2 separate regions of the Homo sapiens genome follow, and region 1 is linked to region 2. The links are contacts of gene promoters, found by promoter capture Hi-C in blood cells and fetal thymus (Javierre and others, 2016). All regions are on one chromosome and are shown on one strand. The core of a region is centred on a gene start or on the middle of the fragment in contact, and the rest is flanking DNA. Distances in the headings are between cores, read along the strand shown. Region 1 has its middle 6.1 kb from the start of ATP1A1. Region 2 holds the start of ATP1A1-AS1 (ATP1A1 antisense RNA 1).

Region 1 (2,870 bases), core at 100-2,599, 51 kb after region 2:
CAGAGTCCCATCTTCATCCAACCAGCAGAGACACAGCTTCAGGCAGCCTTACAGCTCAGAAAGGGCAAGCCCAAAGCTGGGAAGAGGTGGCGGGAGGTAACTGGCATCTAACCCTTCCTGCTCTCCAGGGGGCACAACCACAAGCACTAAGGAAATAAGTGCCATCATCGTGGTGGATAGATTTGCTATTCTTGGCCTTAAACTCTTCCATGGAAAAACAATTGAGAGAGTTCTTTGGAAGTTGGTCCTACTGGGAATAATACTCTTCCATAGATGCCTTTGCATTAAAGCTGGGTTTCAGAGACTGTGCAGATTTTTGTTTCAGTAAAAAGCTACCTTAAGAGGAGAGAATACAAAACCATCAAAAAGTGGTTTGGTTCATTTATAAGAATGGAAGTTTTTGCAACAGCAGAAGTAACCAAAAAGTAGGTCAGGTGCAAAAATAGTAACCAGCTCAATTCATTTTTAACAGCTTATGTTTTACTCTGGAGGCTTCCATTTTGGCGATGGTGACCTCTACATGTGGACTCTTACAAATAAGCCCCTAAGAAGGGTTCCCCCTTTTTTCCCCCTCTTATAAAGAGCATACTCCAATCCTTAACTCTGGTAGTGTATAGTATTTAACAGAAGTAAGAACTAGTTCATGCAAAAAATCAGAATAAACATTATTGAATATCTACTCTGAGCCTAGCACAGTGCTTGTTGCTGTTGTATAAAGATAACTAAGACACATTCTCTACCCTCAAATAGCTCACCATCTGGCATAAAAAAAAGACATGCAAAGAGATATTAGTAACACAGTGAGAGGTGCTGCATATATGCAGGCCTTCATGGGGGCATGAAGGAGGAAGTGGCCAGCTCTGTCTGCAGAGTGGGAAAGGCTTCCCTGGCTGGGATTGTGAAAGATGGTTAGGAGTTCACGGAATGGCAGCATGTTAGGCAGGACCAGGAGGATGCAAGCAAAAGTAGCACATGGGTAAGGTCTTCAGGACAGAAACAAACTGAGTGTTGGAGGACTGGCCAGAAGATTAAAATGGCGAGAGCCTAGGTTGTGAGAGGAATGGCGGCAGGAAGTAAGCTTGGAGAGGTGAGCAGAGTCCAGATTGTGGAGGACTTGGATGCCATCAAAGGGCTTGGACTTTATCCTATGGGCCATAGGGAGACACTGTGGGGTTCTAAGCAGGGGCAGGGCATGATCAGATTTGTGCTTTGGAAAGATTTCTCCAGTAGATATGCCTTCATAGCCAGCACATTTATGAAAGCTTCTCTGATCACATTATTGAATTCAGAATCTCAAGATACCTATATCTCCTTGTATATTTTTGTCATAGTATGCTAATTTTATTTTCTTCCTTTTCTTGTGCACACACAGGCAGCATGCCTTAACTCCCATTACCATCCCTATTATCTACTACTTCTCTTGAACAGAAGCTTTTGAATTGCTGGATATGATGAAAAACTGGAATTAGGACATAATTTTAACAATTGGTCAACATACAACTCCCTAGCCCTCAGAAGATAGTTCAATTTGCGGGGATGGCTCAGGCATTTTATCTGATTTCCTAGTGTTTTTTGCTAAGGTGAATTCCAAATAGGCCAAGGACTTTGTTGGTTTCCAGTTCTCTCAGAGTCCAGTGCTTGATGCAACTCCACTGACTAAAGAAATGTTAAGCTGCCTGGTAAGCAATCTCACATTTGAAGACCGAAATTATAGAAGATAAAGAAAAGAAGGAAGAAACCAAGTTAATGAAAAATTTAGCTTCAATTGTCCAAATACTGAGGTGAGAGGGTCACTTGAGACCAATGATTCAAGACCAGCCTGAGTGATATAGTGGGACCTACCTCAAAAAAAAAAAAAAAAAAAAAAAAAAAAAAGTTGTCCAAATAGCTCAAGTTAAAGATGTCCCTGCCTAACACATCTCAGCTTTTTGCTTTTTTGACAAGTCCCTGTTAACATTTGACGTCTGGTCATGGACACAGTGTTAAGAGTTAACAGTGGAGACAGAGATGGTGGTGGTGGTAATGAAAGTGATGGTAGGAGGTAATGGGATGGTGGTGATGGAGGTGGTGGACCCAAAATAGCTGATCACATGACAGGATTCTAACCAAATACCTTCTTCAAACAATGTATGTAAGCATGAAGCTTTTTATCTAGAAAAACTATCTAACTTAGTAACTCTACCAGTGGGCTGCTATGAGAAACAATTGACATGATATACTTAAAGCACTAGAACATTGCCTGCCATGTAGTAACTGTTCAAAGAGGGTAAGCAATTATCTCGTCTTGATTCCAAATTCCTACTTAGCCTGGGAGATATAAGGTCCAAGGAAGAATGAAGGCAGCTACAAAATTTGTCTACAGGAGGAGAGAATGAGAACAGAATTTACTTTATGCTGGCTCACCTTTTCCCACGTCAATCTCCTTTATCCAACAAAGAACCAGTCTACTGAGACACAGCCAGCCAAGTGCACCCAGTTGGGTGGTAGAGGTCAGTCAGCACTCCACCTGTCTGAACTGGTCTGGTTATTACCAAACTTCAGGCGAGGACCAGGAAAATAAGTCCACTAAAACGTCAGAGCCGTAGCCCAGCTGATTGATTTTCACCTTCAGAATAAGAAGCCTGAATATCCAGGATCTAGACTGCACGGGCTTCCTCAGGAGAAAGAAAGCATTGTCTCTAAATGCAATTTAAAACCTTTAAAACCTTTTCTTCTTTTTCCTTTTTACTTAAAAAAAAAAAAAAGATACCATCTGCTAATGCAATCACTAATTAGTGAGAGAGAGTTATTCTAGCTTCCTAAGAACAAACCCAAGAGGAGGCTGAGTTTCAGGACCGTCACTCCTGCTCCAGGAATAAGCAGCCGAGTCA
Region 2 (2,755 bases), core at 184-2,683:
CGGATCACAAGGTCAGAGATCCAGACCATCCTGGCTAACACGGTGAAACCCCGTCTCTACTAAAAACACAAAAATTAGCCGGGCGTGGTGGCGGGCGCCTGTAGTCCCAGCTACTCAGGAGGCTGAGGCAGGAGAATGGCGTGAACCTGGGAGGCGGAGCTTGCAGTGAACGGAGATCGCGCCACTGCACTCCAGCCTGGGCGACAGAGCGAGATACCGTCTCACAAAAAAAAAAAAAAAAAAAAAAAAAGTGCACTTTAGATGTTTTCCTGGTGGGGGGGGGGGGGAGTGGGATATAAGTAGCAGTGTTCCAAGTACCAAAACCTCCCTGAGTCATCTGTGAAAAGCCATTTGGCAATAATACTGAAAGCTTTTAAATGCTCACATTCTGACTTAGCAGTTTCACTCCTGTGAATATAACCTAAGGAAACTGATCTCAATACTGAAAGGACTTTATACACAAGAATGGGCTGGGCAGCAAAGTGCTGTAATCCCAGCACTTTGGGAGGCCGAGGCCGGGTCGAGGGAGAAGCACCTGAGGTCAGAAGTTCGAGACCAGCCTGGCCAACATGATGAAACCCCGTCTCTACTGAAAGTACAAAAATTAGGTGGGCGTGGTGGCAGATGCCCGTAATCTCAGCTACTCAGGAGGCTGAGGCAGGAGAATCTCTTGAACCTGGAAGGCGAAGGTTGCAGTGAGCTGAGATCGCGCCACTGCACTCCAGCCTGGGCGACAAGAGCGAGACATCGTCTCAAAAAACAAACAAACAAACAAACAAACAACCAAACAAAACAAAAAAGAATGAATAATTTATAATCGTGAAGCTTTGGAAGCCACTTGAATGTTGAACATTTGCGAGATGCTCAGAGAAGTGACAGCGTATCAACCCAATTTTTTAAAGTCCTGCCATTAAAAATTATAGGTAGGAAGCGTCAGTACTAACACGGTGAAAATGTTCATGTTACAAAGTGGAAAACAACCCTGGATTCAGTTTAGTATGTGCGTTTTACCACAGCTATGTAGAAACAAATCCATACACATGGAAATCGAATGAAGTGAAACGCATGCAAATGGTAATGATGCTGTGCTTGGAGGCAGAATTGGAAGCAGTGTTAAAGTTATTTATCATCATTCGTGTTTTTAAAATGCCGTGTGATGGCCGCAATACTTCTGTAACGAATGATGTTTAAGCACGGAGCCCTTCACTGGCCGACGCGCGGGTGGGAGATAGGAGCCGCGCCCAAGCTCAGGTGGCGGCTGCGGGCAGGGCCGCCTGGGGCCGCAGCCGGGCGCGCTCCCGGCGGGGACCCTCTGCTCTCCTTGCAGACGGAGGCCGCGCCGGGTTTGGAGGCATCCCACAGCCTCAGGCCGAGGACCCGCCGCGAAGCGCCGCCTCCGCGGGTTGACCCTCTGCAGCCGCCGTAGCGCAGAGACGAATCCGCGCTCCCCCAGGCTGTCGCGCGAGCTCCCCGGAAGCTCCCACCTGAGCGGCGCATCCTCAGGGCCTGGGCCTGGCCTCCTTGCCTGTGAGATGGCACTGTGACGGTGCCCACCTCGTGGGGTGTGTGAGGGCCGAGTGAAATCGTGCATTTGCGGTAAGAAAGTGCTTATCACGGTGCCCAGTCCTAATATGGGCTGCCAGCCTAAGTACAGAGTCCCAATCCCAGCCCAAAGGCCAGTTTCCAGGTGAACCCTTGTCGGGGAGACCACCAGACGGAACAGTCCCAGTCTACACTCCTGCACCGAGCAGGGGACAGTGTGGACCGCAGAGAGGTCCGAAGTCCCTTTAGAATAAGGATGGTGCTTCAGGGTTGTTAAAAGGATTAAATGAGATGATATCTAAAGGGATTAGCACAGTGGCTGGTGCTAAAATAAATCATTTTCTCTACTGCCACTGCTCTTACAACCAGACGCCTGGAACAGCCTGCTGGTTCGTCTCCTCATTTGTAAGCTGGAGTTAGTAGGTGTGTTGTGAAGGTTGAGAGAATATGCATAGGCAGAACCTGGCGTTTAATATTTGGGAAGTGGCAGCAATTCTTTCTTCATTAATCTACAAGCTGCACTGTGGTAGGCACATACCCTTAGCACCGATTCTTATAAGTGCAGGTAAGAGAGAGAGAAGATATATTGTGTAAGTCGAAGGAGCCAGCCGTGTCCAGGCCACCGCAAAACCTCGACAGTACTGTACCAGGGCCCTCTTCAGTGAATGAATCTCCTCTTTGGCCTGTTTGCTGTCTGTTTGCATTTGCTGCACCCATCAGTTCCCAAACCTGGTCTCTAAAGTCAGGAGCTCAAGGAAGCTTGTCCCAATCCTAGAAAACAAGTACAGCACACACCAACAGCAGCATCCCTAAAAGCCAGCCCTACTGGCAATGCGGGCCCTGCAACCCGTAGGTAAGTGGGACACTCTAAGCTTCTTGGAAACAGCTAACTCAGGGCCTGATTAGCTTACTCCCGCCTCCTGTCTTCAGGAAATCAGACTGTGTAAAATAAGAGAGAAAAGAAAATTGACATAAGTCTATTCCACTGTCTAATGAAATGTGTTTCACTTGTGTTTAAAGTGAATTGTGGGCTGGCGTGGTGGCTCATTTGCCTATAATCCCAACACTTTAGGAGGCCAAGGCAGGCAGATGGCTTGAGCTCAGAAGTTTGAAATCAGCCTGGCAACATGCAAAAACCCCATCTCTACAAAAAATATAAAAATTAGCAGGATGTGGTGGCGCATGCCTGTAGTCCCAGTTACTCTGGAGGCTG

Evidence for each region. Contacts are between HindIII fragments. The CHiCAGO score rates a contact against its expected background, and 5 or more counts as called.
Region 1: a contact is called between a fragment that was not itself captured here and the fragment with the promoter of ATP1A1-AS1 in region 2, in 3 of 17 cell types (total CD8 T cells, naive B cells and total B cells). The highest score is 5.4, in total CD8 T cells.

Annotation. Positions count from the first base shown.
Region 1 is chr1:116,365,712-116,368,581 of GRCh38, reverse strand. No RefSeq gene overlaps it. Among named protein-coding and RNA genes, the nearest start is that of ATP1A1, 6.1 kb to the left of the region's middle. The HindIII fragment of the contact is 169 bases long and covers 1,265-1,433 here.
Region 2 is chr1:116,417,300-116,420,054 of GRCh38, reverse strand. ATP1A1-AS1 (ATP1A1 antisense RNA 1) reads left to right here and starts at 1,433. Exons shown (of 3, transcript NR_027646.1): 1 at 1,433-1,596. RefSeq lists a silencer at 1,225-1,354 and an enhancer at 1,314-1,608. The HindIII fragment of the contact is 1,476 bases long and covers 828-2,303 here.